Regions from separate parts of the Homo sapiens genome. Here regions 2 and 3 are each linked to region 1. Evidence: promoter capture Hi-C in 16 types of primary human blood cells and fetal thymus (Javierre and others, 2016). All regions are on one chromosome and are shown on one strand. Each heading gives the region's core, a stretch centred on a gene start or on the middle of the fragment in contact. The rest is flanking DNA. Distances are from core to core; before and after follow the strand shown.

Evidence for each region. The method cuts DNA at HindIII sites, captures the fragments that hold promoters and counts their contacts. A CHiCAGO score of 5 or more calls a contact.
Region 2: the fragment with the promoter of ITGB1BP1 here is called in contact with the fragment with the promoter of LPIN1 in region 1 in 2 of 17 cell types (naive CD8 T cells and total CD8 T cells); the score reaches 6.2 in naive CD8 T cells.
Region 3: the fragment with the promoter of KIDINS220 here is called in contact with the fragment with the promoter of LPIN1 in region 1 in 4 of 17 cell types (naive CD4 T cells, naive B cells, non-activated CD4 T cells and 1 more); the score reaches 12.0 in naive CD4 T cells.

What each region holds. Positions count from the first base shown.
Region 1 is chr2:11,745,359-11,749,028 of GRCh38, reverse strand. LPIN1 (lipin 1) reads right to left here and starts at 2,397. Exons shown (of 21, transcript NM_001349206.2): 1 at 2,358-2,397. LOC124907735 (a long non-coding RNA gene) reads left to right here and starts at 3,570. Exons shown (of 2, transcript XR_007086220.1): 1 at 3,570-3,670. RefSeq lists enhancers at 474-1,145, 3,657-3,670 and a silencer at 2,149-2,718. The HindIII fragment of the contact is 2,521 bases long and covers 1,462-3,670 here.
Region 2 is chr2:9,421,282-9,424,984 of GRCh38, reverse strand. It overlaps ITGB1BP1 (integrin subunit beta 1 binding protein 1), which reads left to right and starts at 1,457. Exons shown (of 7, transcript NM_004763.5): 1 at 1,457-1,612. CPSF3 (cleavage and polyadenylation specific factor 3) reads right to left here and starts at 1,331. Exons shown (of 18, transcript NM_016207.4): 1 at 1,162-1,331. The coding sequence starts at 1,211. RefSeq lists enhancers at 1,095-1,144, 1,185-1,234, 2,105-2,154, 2,148-3,006 and a silencer at 1,665-1,964. The HindIII fragment of the contact is 3,929 bases long and covers 804-3,703 here.
Region 3 is chr2:8,835,921-8,839,904 of GRCh38, reverse strand. It overlaps KIDINS220 (kinase D interacting substrate 220), which reads left to right and starts at 2,292. Exons shown (of 30, transcript NM_020738.4): 1 at 2,292-2,425. RefSeq lists silencers at 2,116-2,165, 2,176-2,235. The HindIII fragment of the contact is 383 bases long and covers 2,082-2,464 here.

The DNA.
Region 1 (3,670 bases), core at 1,148-3,647:
AGCCCCAAAGCTGCTAGTGGGTGATTCCAGGGACTTCCTCCTCAGGACCCCTCAAAAGCTCCAAGATCCCACGCCCGGGCTACCAGTGAGGAAGTGCAAGTGCAAACAGGTCGAACCACCAGCCTCGGTGTCCTGGCGGGACCTAACACCTGGATGTCTCTCAAAATGCTCCAAAAGCTGCCGACATCCGTGCAACAGCCCCCTCCCACCCTAAGGAAAAAGCTGCCTGTACCCCTCGACTACCCCCATTGGCAGGCTTGCCCAAATCAATTAACCTCATTTAGGTACCTTTTAGGCCTTGAACCCAGTACACAGATGGTCCGGAAAAGCCAACCGGAAGAGAGGTGGCAGGCAGGGGGAGGGGGTGTCCCACAGGGATGATTTACAGAGCAGAGGCCGGCGTCAGCCAGGACTGTCCCAACCCCACAAAGAGCCCCTCCTCGCTGGCACCCTGTGGCACTTTAAAATCATAACAACCACAATGATTCGTGGACCCCATATTATGTTCCAGGGGCTCTTTTTTATCTCAATTAATTTTTGCAACAATCCTGTGAATGGGTATGATTATCCCTTCATTTTACAGATGGGAAAACTGAGGCTCAGAGGATTGAAGTCTTCTGCCCAAGTTCTACATCTGTGAGTGGTCAGAACAACAACTGCAAAGCCCAGTGCTCTGTGCCGGCCTCGGCGCATCTCAGACCACGGTGGCCTCAGGACCTTCTTCTGAAATATCTTTTCATCTCCTGACCCTCCCCTGCCGTCTGTTCTGGGCCCTTTGTGCAGCTGACCACGCAAAGAGCAGGAGAGCAGGACCCACAGACTTCCTTCTGGCTGGGCCAGGCCAATTGTCCCCACCTAATCCAGGGCAGGCTCCTTCTCAGTCACTTCCAAGGTCCCCCCTACAACCAGGAATCCCTGCGGTCTCTCACCTGAACCCTCGCGTTCTCTCCCACACCACAAGACTCAGCAGGTCCGCCCCTTGTCCCCCTGTGCTTTTCTAAAAGAAAGGAACTGCTGATAAGCGAGACCTGGGTGGGTGAAAGAACTCGCTCAGGGTCCCACAGAGCTCAGGCAGAGCCCAGACCTCCCGACCCGAGTCCAGGGCTATATCCAGGCCTGGCTCCACAGGACCACAGGGCCCCACATGCAAATAGGAATAATAAGCGCCAAAACACACAACCCATGCACAAAAACACTCAATAACAAATGCTGGCAAACGTGAAGTGCTATCAAAGTATATAATCATAAATCCAACTGTTACACCTTTCAACAAGAATCTGGGAGCAAGAAAAGTGTTCATGTGTGGATGTGCTTATTTCTCAAATACTATACATTCCTCAACTGCTTACTTTCATTAATAAGACCCAAATTACGGAACAAAGGATAAACAGTCAATCTCACAATCACTACCCCTAGACCACCATACCACAACACCCCCAATTAAAAAAACGGCTACAAGCTTTGATTTCCCAAAACACTTCTATCCTGTGGGAAACTGCCGGGTTCTAAAACATCTCCAAATTAATACTGCCAGTTGTCTTAGTTGGTTTCCTGCTTGCTGATCAAAAACAGGGTTGACATCTGCTTTCTCCAGCAACTACTGACCACACAAATTACCTACTCTAGCTCCACAGCACTTAAGTTACTCCCAAAACGTTACTTCTCATCCTGCATTTTCCTGGCCTTGCCCATAATAAAATTACGTGCAGGAGCAGCTGACGGAGCTCACTAGGCCTAGCACCTCCTAGGCTGCAAGAAAGGTGCAGAGGCCTCGCAGGGGAGAGCTGTAATATGAGAACCGGGATTCCAACCTGGGCTCAGCCTGCCCTGCCGCCCGGCAACTGTATGACCTTGGGCACAGAGGTCAACCTCCCTGAGCCTCAGTTTCCTCAACTGCAGCGCTGGAATCCTAACTCCGGGGGAAAGAAAGGCTCTCATCCCAGTCCCCGGCGCAAAGCTGGGGATGATCGCGCAGAGCCAGGACGCACCCGCGCTGGCCGGCTGGAGCTAGTCCCCGCGGTTCTGGGACTGCGCGGCAGCCCCCAGTGGCCCCTACGCCGCTCGAGATCAGCCAAGCCGGGCCCACACCGGGCCTCGCGGCGCGTCAGGAAAGCCAGGCCCGAGGGATGCTCGCGAGGCCCTCCCGGCCTCCGGGGCCTGTTTCCCCGCCTCCCTCCCCCGAACCACTTCCCGTAGAGGGCCCCGGGGACGTAGCCCGGCCGTCGGTCCTCGGGCCCCGGGGCCGAGCCCCCGCCTCGCCACGCGTCCTCAGCGCCCCGGCGCCGCGCCCCGCCCCGCCTAACCCGAGGCTGCGGCCCCTGCTCCACAGCGGGAGGCTGGAGGCGGCGGCTACTCACCGAGCGGCGCCGCGCGTGGCCGCCTTTGTATTGCAAACACCCAGCCCGCCGCCGGCTGTCAGCGCAGCTCGCCTTCGGGGGCGGGGCAGGGGCGGGGGCAGAGGGCAGGGGCGGGGCAAGCGGGGCGGTGCGAGGGGGACTCGGGACGCGCTGGTGGCCCGGCTGCTTTCAGGGCCTGCTGGCCGGCCCTGCCCGCTCACCCCTGGCCGCCTATCTTAGCGTTCCTGGGGGTGGGGCCCCTTAGGCCGCCTTTCTGATTTTCCTTTCCAGAGCCAAACTCGTGTGTTTCTTCAACACTCTGACTTGACCTATGCCGATGACTGGGGGAGTGAGGACGGAGGGGTGCAGAGAAAAGGCAGCCAGGTAAAAGTCCAGGTAAACCACCCAGGGCCTGGCCGCGATCACGTCGGTCCTATGGGTCCCGCTTATCACCAGTGGCGGGATCTGAGCCCGTCCTTGACTTTACTGACCCTCGCCCTTCGTTTCTTCCACCTTAAAGGCGCAATCGCGTTGACCTATCGCCATCTCTTCTTAGCTTCTCCACGCCGGGCCACCCCTGTCCTTCATCCTGATGGTGACAGCCTCCACTCCCGCCTCTGCCAAGCGGTGGTCCAGGTGCGGAACGGTGGCTCTGAACAGGAGGGACAGGCAGCTCCCTGCGCCTCTCCAGCCGGGAGGCAGGCAGCGGATAAACAATGAGCCACATAACGTCTGGTGGTGAAATGATTTCCATCAATGGGAGGGTGTCATATTTGAACTGAAACTCTAAATGACAAGAAACACCTATGACTACAAAGATGGGGAGGAGGCAGGGCTTTCTGGAGAGCAGAAATGGCAGGTGCAAAGGTCCTGGGGCCGGTGCTGTGGGCTGGAGGGAAGGCAGGGGCCAAATATTCAGGTCTTGTAGGCCAAGGCAAGGAGTTTAGGTATTATTTAAATGTTATTCCAAACCAATTCTTTTTGAGACAGGGTCCCACTCTGTCACCCAAGCTACAGTGCAGTGGCACAATCTCGGTTCACTGCAGCCTTCACCTTCTGGCCTCAGGCAATCCTCCTGCCTCAGCCTCTCAAGTAGCTGGGACCACAGGTGCATGCCACCACGCCCAGCTAATTTTTCAAACTATTTGTAGAGACCAGGTCTCCCTATGTTGCCCAGGCTGGTCTCAAACTGCTGGGCTCAAGCAGTCTTCCCACCTTGGCTTCCCAAAGTGCTGAGATTACAGGTGTGAACCACCACGCCTGGTCCAAAAAGAATTTTAAACCTGGGAATTATATGATCTAATTTACTTCTTTAAAAAGTCACCCCTCCACTC
Region 2 (3,703 bases), core at 208-2,707, 2.3 Mb after region 1:
AGCTATTATTTACAAAGCACCTACCGCGATGTTCACTCTTCAAGTTTTATCTTATTTCCATATGAGAAAACGGGTTCAGTGAGATTGTTGTCCTACTAATTGGTCAAGTAGATAATGGACTTCAGGTCTGACTTCAAAGTAATAGTCTCCTATTATTCCAAAGTATCTCTCCAATATTTCCCACTGTGCACTGTAATTCTCTCCAAAAGAGCGAGAGCAATTAACTGGGCCCTCTGTTGCGTCTATATCCCCATGTGTGGTGCTTGACACTTGCTCAGTGTTTGCTCATCACAGGAAGACATGACAGGTGTGAACTAAGCAGAAGGAAACGGACTATGTCCCAAGCAGGTGCTCAATGAAGCCTTACTGAATGATTGTGTAAAGGAGATACTTTCTACCTTTTGGAAAGCGTATATTCATGTTGTGCCAACTAGTATCTAACAATAAACATGTTGTGGGTTCGAAATGCTCATCTGTAGGAATTCAAGTTCTCTACATTTGCATCTCCCCTTCAGCAGCATTCCCGACTGATGAGGATCGTGTCCACTGAAAGGCCACTCTCCTTATGGACAGTCGAGGGCTGAGTTTTTGTCCCTAACACCTCTGCACTTTCTCTTCTCCAGCTTTACACCTTCCTTATTCTACTAGGGCCTGAGCTGAGAAGATCGAAACTCACGGCAAGTCCCTAATATTTTCTAACTTCTGGCACATGTGAAGCCCTGGTGTTAAGAAACAGACTTAATTCTTCCCTGCACGGCTGTAGCCTCATTCAGGTCCTCCTCTCATCCTGTCGGTCATAAGCTTCACCGGCTCCCTCACAGCTTGCCCTGACGCGCAGAGATCCGTGCTTGTGCTAAGTGAAAACGCTTCTTAGCGTGTACGAAAGCGAGCGGTGGCCCCGTAAAACTTTTTTTTTTCCGACTCCAACATACCCTCCCCTGAAACTGATGAAAAAGCAAAATCCCGTTCACTCTATAGCAGGCCCCTTCCGATCAACGGTCCTCCAACCCCTCGAGCCTGAGAAGCCTGGCCCGCAAGCGCGGACCAAAGGCAGGCTGCCGGGGTAGGTGGGAGCGCGGGCGACGGAGGAGGCCAGTCTCCGGTTACCCCTCGCGCCCCTCACAGCCCGTGGCTTCATTCCCTCTCTCGCTGGTCCCTTACAGGGGTCGGATCAGCAGCTGGTCGCTCTCCTCAGCAGGAATCGCAGACATCCCGAAAGTGTGAGGGCGAAGCGGGGGTGAGGAACAGGTCGCCGGGGTCTTCCTAAATTGGAAGCACAGCCACCGGTAAATAAAAAAGGAAGAACCCCATTCACCAAGAGCACAACTTCCGTCACTCCGGAGCCCGCGGCACTAGACTCCTCCCCTCGACTTCCGGTCGGGGGACGCCGCTCGCGAGGCTTCCCACCACTTGGGGTCTTGGAACCGGGGGTAGGACGTCAGGACTGCGCCTGCGCATAGTCTTGGAGGCGCGGCCCGGCGGACGTGGGCAGGAGGGCTGGAAAAGCCGGCGCTGGAGCGGGAACGGGAGTAGCTGCCTGGGCGCCAAAGGCCGCGGCACTCCCACGCGGACCCCGAAGTCCGCAACCCGGGGATGGGCCCGCGGCTGCGAGGTGAGCGCCCAGCCCTCGTCCCGCTTGGGGCCGAGCTCGCGGAGGCCTGACGGGAACACGGTCCCGAGAGCGGCGCGGACGGCCAGGAAGGATGGGTGGGGCCGCGGGGCGGGCGGAGGAGGGATGCCTGGGCTCGGGCTTGGTTCCGGGCGGGGCCGCGCTCCCGGGGCGCGGGTGGAGGAGCTTGGAACCACGCAGATCGGGCGTGGGCTTGCGGACTGCAGCTTCCCGAGCCGCTGTCGCCCCGGAGGGGCGGCAAGGCGGGCGGCCGCGGGCCGTTTCCTTGCCTCTTCCTCTGCCCCGCTTCGGCCGCCTCCCGCCTCTCAGGGTCGGGGTTGTCTGTCCCCTTCGCTGTCACATCCTCCGCACCCAGCGCTTGGAAGGTGCTCCATCACGGTGACAGACAGGTGCCAAGCAGGCTGGCGTCTGGGAGGAACTTCGGAGCCGGCTCTCCCTAGGCCCCGAGCTTGGCCGCATCCGTCCTTACTCTGGTGACCCTGGGCAGGTCACTGACTCTTCGGGCGCTTTGGCATCCTCGTTTGAAAGGGGCTGTTATCCTGCAGCCTTGCTGGTCGGTGAGGGTGAGGGTGAGAGGGATCTGTGCACCTAGCACCGTGCATGGCACGTGGTAGGCGTTTGGTACATGGGAATCGCTGTTGGGGTGTCACCTCCCCAGAAAGTTCTCGGCTTCAGTAAGCGCGTCCCCTGCCAGGCGCCCTGGCAATGCAGAGGAGTCACCGAGCTCCGCCTTTGACCAGCGTGCAGCTGGGAGAGTGAGATCAGAGACCACAGCAGATCGTGGCGCTGTGATCAGGGGGTACACTCAAGCTGTGGGTCCCTTACCCCAGCCTTGAGATCCCAGGAAGGCCTGCAGCCTGAAACGGGCCTTGAAAGGTAAGAAGTAGCCAAGTGCCTGACAGGTGAAGGACGTCCCGGGCGGTGCAAAGCAGGGGCGCGTGGAGCATCGCGCTGAGAACCAGGAGCAGCTTTGCCTTGCTGAGATCAATGAACTGTGCCCGGGTTGTGGAGGATGGAAGTGGAAAGGTGATTAGGAGCTGGGTCCTGGAGGACCTGGCGTGTCGTGCTGAAGAACGTTGACTTTGGTCTCTGACTTTGGAGAACCAGTGAAAGATTTTCAGCAGGCTAGTGGCATTAGATTCATGTTTGAAAGAAATCATTTTAATCGTTTTGGCTGCAGTGTGGGGGTAGATTTAAAGTGTTAGGGAATCCAGTAGGACAAGGTCCCTTATCCACGAAATATCCTTGGGTTTGTGAATTCCTTAAATTCATGCCAAACTTTGTATGGATGTGCATTTTTATAGGGTGAGGATCCATCACATTCATCAGTTTCTAAAAAAATAGTGTCTGTGCCCATGGTTTAGGATGACGGGGGCCCTGGTGGAGAGCTGGCTCAGAGAGCTCTTCAGGTGGGGTATACAGTGGGTCTTGGTGCCAGATTGGATGTGGGGCCTGAAGGACAGCAAGGAAATCATGATTTTCTGGCTTCCTCCAGCAATAATAGAATCTCCTGACAGGGAGAGGAGAGGAGAGGAGCAGATCTGGAGGGGAGGATGATGGGTTCAGCTTGAGACATCTTTGCATTTGATGAGCCTGCGGAGCATCCAATCGCCAATCAGGATCATTGGCCTCATTTTGATGCATGAATAATTTTTTTTTTTTTTTTTTGAGACGGAGTCTCGCTCTTTCGTCCAGGCTGGAGTGCAGTGGCGCGATCTCGGCTCACTGCAAGCTCCGCCTCCCGGGTTCACGCCATTCTCCTGCCTCAGGCTCCTGAGTAGCTGGGACTACAGGCGCCCACCACCACGCACAGCCAATTTTTTGTATTTTTAGTAGAGACGGGGTTTCACCATGTTAGCCAGGATGGTCTCGATCTCCTGACCTCGTGATCCGCCCGACTTGGCCTCCCAAAGTGCTGGGATTACAGGCGTGAGCCACCCATGAATAATTTTGAGGCAAGAATGATTTGCTTGAGAACATGCATCAAAATTGCAGCAGATATCAAAGACTTTAATAAATGCTGCTTTTTCCTAAGCCGCTGGGTTGATGATGAAAAGAAAGCCTTAAGGAGTT
Region 3 (3,984 bases), core at 1,043-3,542, 2.9 Mb after region 1:
TCTGTCTCCAAAAAAAAAAAAAAGAAATATTTCCAGGAGGGAGTGCTAAACTGTGCTACCAAGAGAGGGAGGGAAGAGGATGAGGGAGGACAGAAGGAGGACTAGGGGAAGTGGTGGGAGGATTGGAGAGGCTTGGGTGGCTGGAGGAAGACGGGAGGACAGAGGGGGGGATGGGAGGAAGAGGGGTGTGGGGAGAGTTGGGGGAGGATGTGGGGGCAGAGGGTGGAGGAAGCAGTGAGAGGATAAGAGGAGGATGGAGGGGATTGAGGGAAACAGCTGGAGGCTGAGGAAAGATGGGGTTGGGGGGTGGTGGGAAGGGTAGTGGATGCTGGGGGAGGCAGCCTTCTATTTCCATAGGACAAATTTGATACTCTTCTAATCCCTTCAGTGGCCTTCTATTTCCCTAGAACAAATTCCCAAATGGTACTTAACACTCAAGGCCCTTCAGAGGCTGACCCCTGCTCCATCTACTGCCCCCTCCCATGCTGCCACCCCAGCCCCAAGGCTGGCAAATATTGACAGTTCCTGGAACTTTGGGCCACCCTCCTTCTCATCTCTATTCTTTTCCAAAGTGTTGTTCCCCGACCTGGACATTCTTCCTAGCCCCATCCAACTGATGTGATGGACAAACTATACTTCAGATACAGCTGGAGGTGCGGGGGGGGGGGGTCCCTTCTTTTGTGAACCTTCCTAGTGGACCCCAAGCAGAGTTGGTAACTCCATCCTCTGTGCTTACCTCCTTACTGCACTGTGCCTAGGACATGGTCAGGACTCAGAAAGGCTGTGCTAAATAACGCACATTTAACCTGTTTCCTTGTCTTCTCCCCTACTCTAAGGTTGGCTTCATCCTTATATCCTACTGATATGGTTTGGCTCTGTGACCCCACCCAAATCTCATCTCGAATTGTATTCCCCATAATCCCCACGTGTCAAGGGAGGGACTTGGTCGGGGGTGATTGGATCACGTCAGCGGTTTCCCCCGTGCTGTTCTCGTGATAGTGAGTGAATTCTCACGAGATCTGTTGGATGTAAAAGGGGCTTTTGACCCTTTTGCTGGGCACCTCTCTTCCTGCAGCCATGTGACGAAGGACGTGTTTGCTTCCCTTTCCGCCATGATTTTAAGTTTCCTGAGGCTTCTCCAGCCATGCAGAACTGTGAGTCAATTAAACCTCTTTTCTTTATAAATTACCCTGTCTCAGGTGGTTCTTTATAGCAGTGTGAAAACGGGCTAATACACCTACCATACTTCTAACCCCCAACGCCTGACCCACCCTGCCCTGTTTACAACAGTGGCTGGCCTTAGCAAGTCATTATCGAAGAAATCACACCATTTAGGACTCCACTGTACACGTTGGGGTGTTCGCTCCTTGTTTCATGAGGGGCACACCAACTTCCGTTTTTGTTTGTTTGTTTGTTTGTTTGGAGATAGGATCTTGCCCTGTTGCCCTGGCTGAAGTGCAGTGGTGTGATCTCAGCTCACTGCAGCCTCGAACTCCTGGGCTCAAGTGATCCTCTCACCTCTGTCTCCTAAGTGGCTGGGACTACAGGTGTGCAACACCACGCCTGGCTAAGTTTTGTATTTTTGTATTTTTTTTTTTTTTTTTTTTTTTTGTAGAGAAGAGGTCTCTCCATGTTGCCCAGGCTGGTTTCAAACTCCTGAGCTCAAGTGATCCTCCGTCTTGGCCTCCCAAAATGCTGGGATTACAGGAGTGAGCCATTGTCCCCACCCCGCACCAACTTCTGATGAAGTCAGGCTCCTTATTGGCTTTTTCCTGAGTTGCCAGGTTGACACATTGGTGGGTGCTTTTCGATGGTTCGCAACCTACGCACGTCGTAATCATCCTTGGACCTTTTCAAAAATCAAGATTGACGCTTGTTGGCAGCAAGGCCTAGGAATGTGGAGGCTGAAGGAGGTGAGGGGAGGTGCTGGGAGACCTGGAAGGAGTGTGAACTACAGGCCCCGCGAAAGGCAGAGGTCTCGCTCCTGGATCCGGAAGAAGGCTGCTGAGCGGGCTTTCATTTCTTATGTATGTGCAGTTTCTTCTGAAGATATAATTGATGTTTATTTCTCTGAATAAGCTTGATTATAATGGAAAATAGGGATAATAAATTAACTGTAATAAGAGTGACATTGACACTGAAAAACCTTGCCTGGGGCGCTTGTCCTGGGTGTCCCCGCCCCGCGGCCCCTCCAGCCCCGCCTGCTCTACGCCCCGCCCCGCCCCTCCCCTCCACGCCCAGGGGGCGTGGCAACCCGGAGTCCCTCCCCTACCCAGGGCACGTGATCTGTCAGTTCGCGGAGAGGGAAGAATATGGCCGCCGGGTGTGGTGAGGGCGACGCGCTTGCAGTCGCCGTCTCTTGCTTCCCCGTCCTCTGACATCGCCTGCAGCCGAGCGGGCCCGTTCCGCCGGAGCTGAGGACCAGGTTGGGAGACCGTCAGTGTGGAGGCCGGTCCGCGAAGCTTTGCCGCGGGATTGGGGAGGAGTCGGGGGCGAGGCCGGGCTCGGGGAGTCGGGCGGGGAGGTGGGACAGCCGAGGAGTGCGCGGAAGGGGCGAGCTCGGACCGGGGGTCCCGGGGAGGGCATGGCGCGGGCCCCGGACGCTCGGGCCCCGGCTTTCGGGGCGAGTCCGCGTTTCCTGGAGCGCCGGGAAGGTCTCCGACCTTGGAGTCTCTGGTGGTCTGTCTCCTGAGGGGCCCCTCGGGTGGGTTGGGGTGAAGGGTGTTGGTAAAACCGTTTTTTTTCTTTTGCCAAGCAGCCTCTGGCACATCCACCACCTTGAGAGCCCCCTTAGCTGGTACCGCTAGTCTTTCTAGGTTCCTCCTCCTAGGCTTCCACGGGCCGGGAGGTGTTGTTTTCTCCCTTGCTTTTATCGTGGGCTCCATTGCTCCATTGTCCTGTGCAGGCTTTTAAACGCCTGGCAAAATAGTGCAAGCCATTGATTTCCACGCCTCCAAGATTTATTTATAGGGAAATAATTTCTTCATCACTTTGTAATGTTGGAATTTTTATTCTTTCAAGTTGACAGGTTTAAACCGATGAAAAATTTTTTTATGAATAACTATGCAGCCATCTCTGCTCCCTATGGGCGCTTGTTAAAAATGTAGATTTCTTAGCGTTTTAGAGATTCCCATTCCTTCGGCCTGAGGTGTGGCTCGGGAATCACCCCTTCAGGTTCGTTCCTGTCCACATTTTGACAACACTGAGGACCAGACATCTACACCTTTTTAAACCACCGTGGGGTATTGAGTGCAGAGCCCAGGTTGGGAAATGCCGTGGCCAGGTGTGTTCTTTGTTCTCTTCTAGCTTTACTAGCATGGACTACTTTCATCAGAATCATTTTGGGGTGCTTGTTAAAATGTCAGTTTCTGGGCACCACCCCAGATCTAGGGAATGGGATTCTCCCGGGGAGGAGCTCAAGGGATATGTGTATTTGACAAGCTTCCCAAATAATTTTGGTGCACACAAGTTTGAGAATCCTTGTTCTACACCCTTTGTGTGAATAATTTCCAGATCATTCACACACAGTGTGAACGGTATCTTTTTCCAAGTATTGGGTGGGTTTCTCCAACCTAGTTCTTTTGGGACACTTCAAATTCAGCCTGGCCAAAGCCCCATTCGCCCAGCTGGGGTGGTGGAAGGGAGGAGGCATAACTTAAGTAGAGAAAAGTCTGCTCTTTCTCCTGCTTTTTTTTTTTTGGTTAAGGGCAGCTCCATTCTTCAGTCACCTATGCTGGGCATCTGGTCATCTTCCACCTGTTTTCTTTTCCAACCAGTCACATAGTTTTATCTTTATATCCAGAATATCTCTTCTGGATATTTTGGTAGTTCAGAAAGTTCAAATGTCAGGGATTTTATATTTTTCAAGTTAATATCCCTCATTTCTTCTCTATTCCCACTGCCTCTCTTGTGTACTGTCTGGTGATTCCTTGACTGGTATCTAGGGCCCTGATTCTTTGTATTTTTCCAGTCTGGGTCACATAC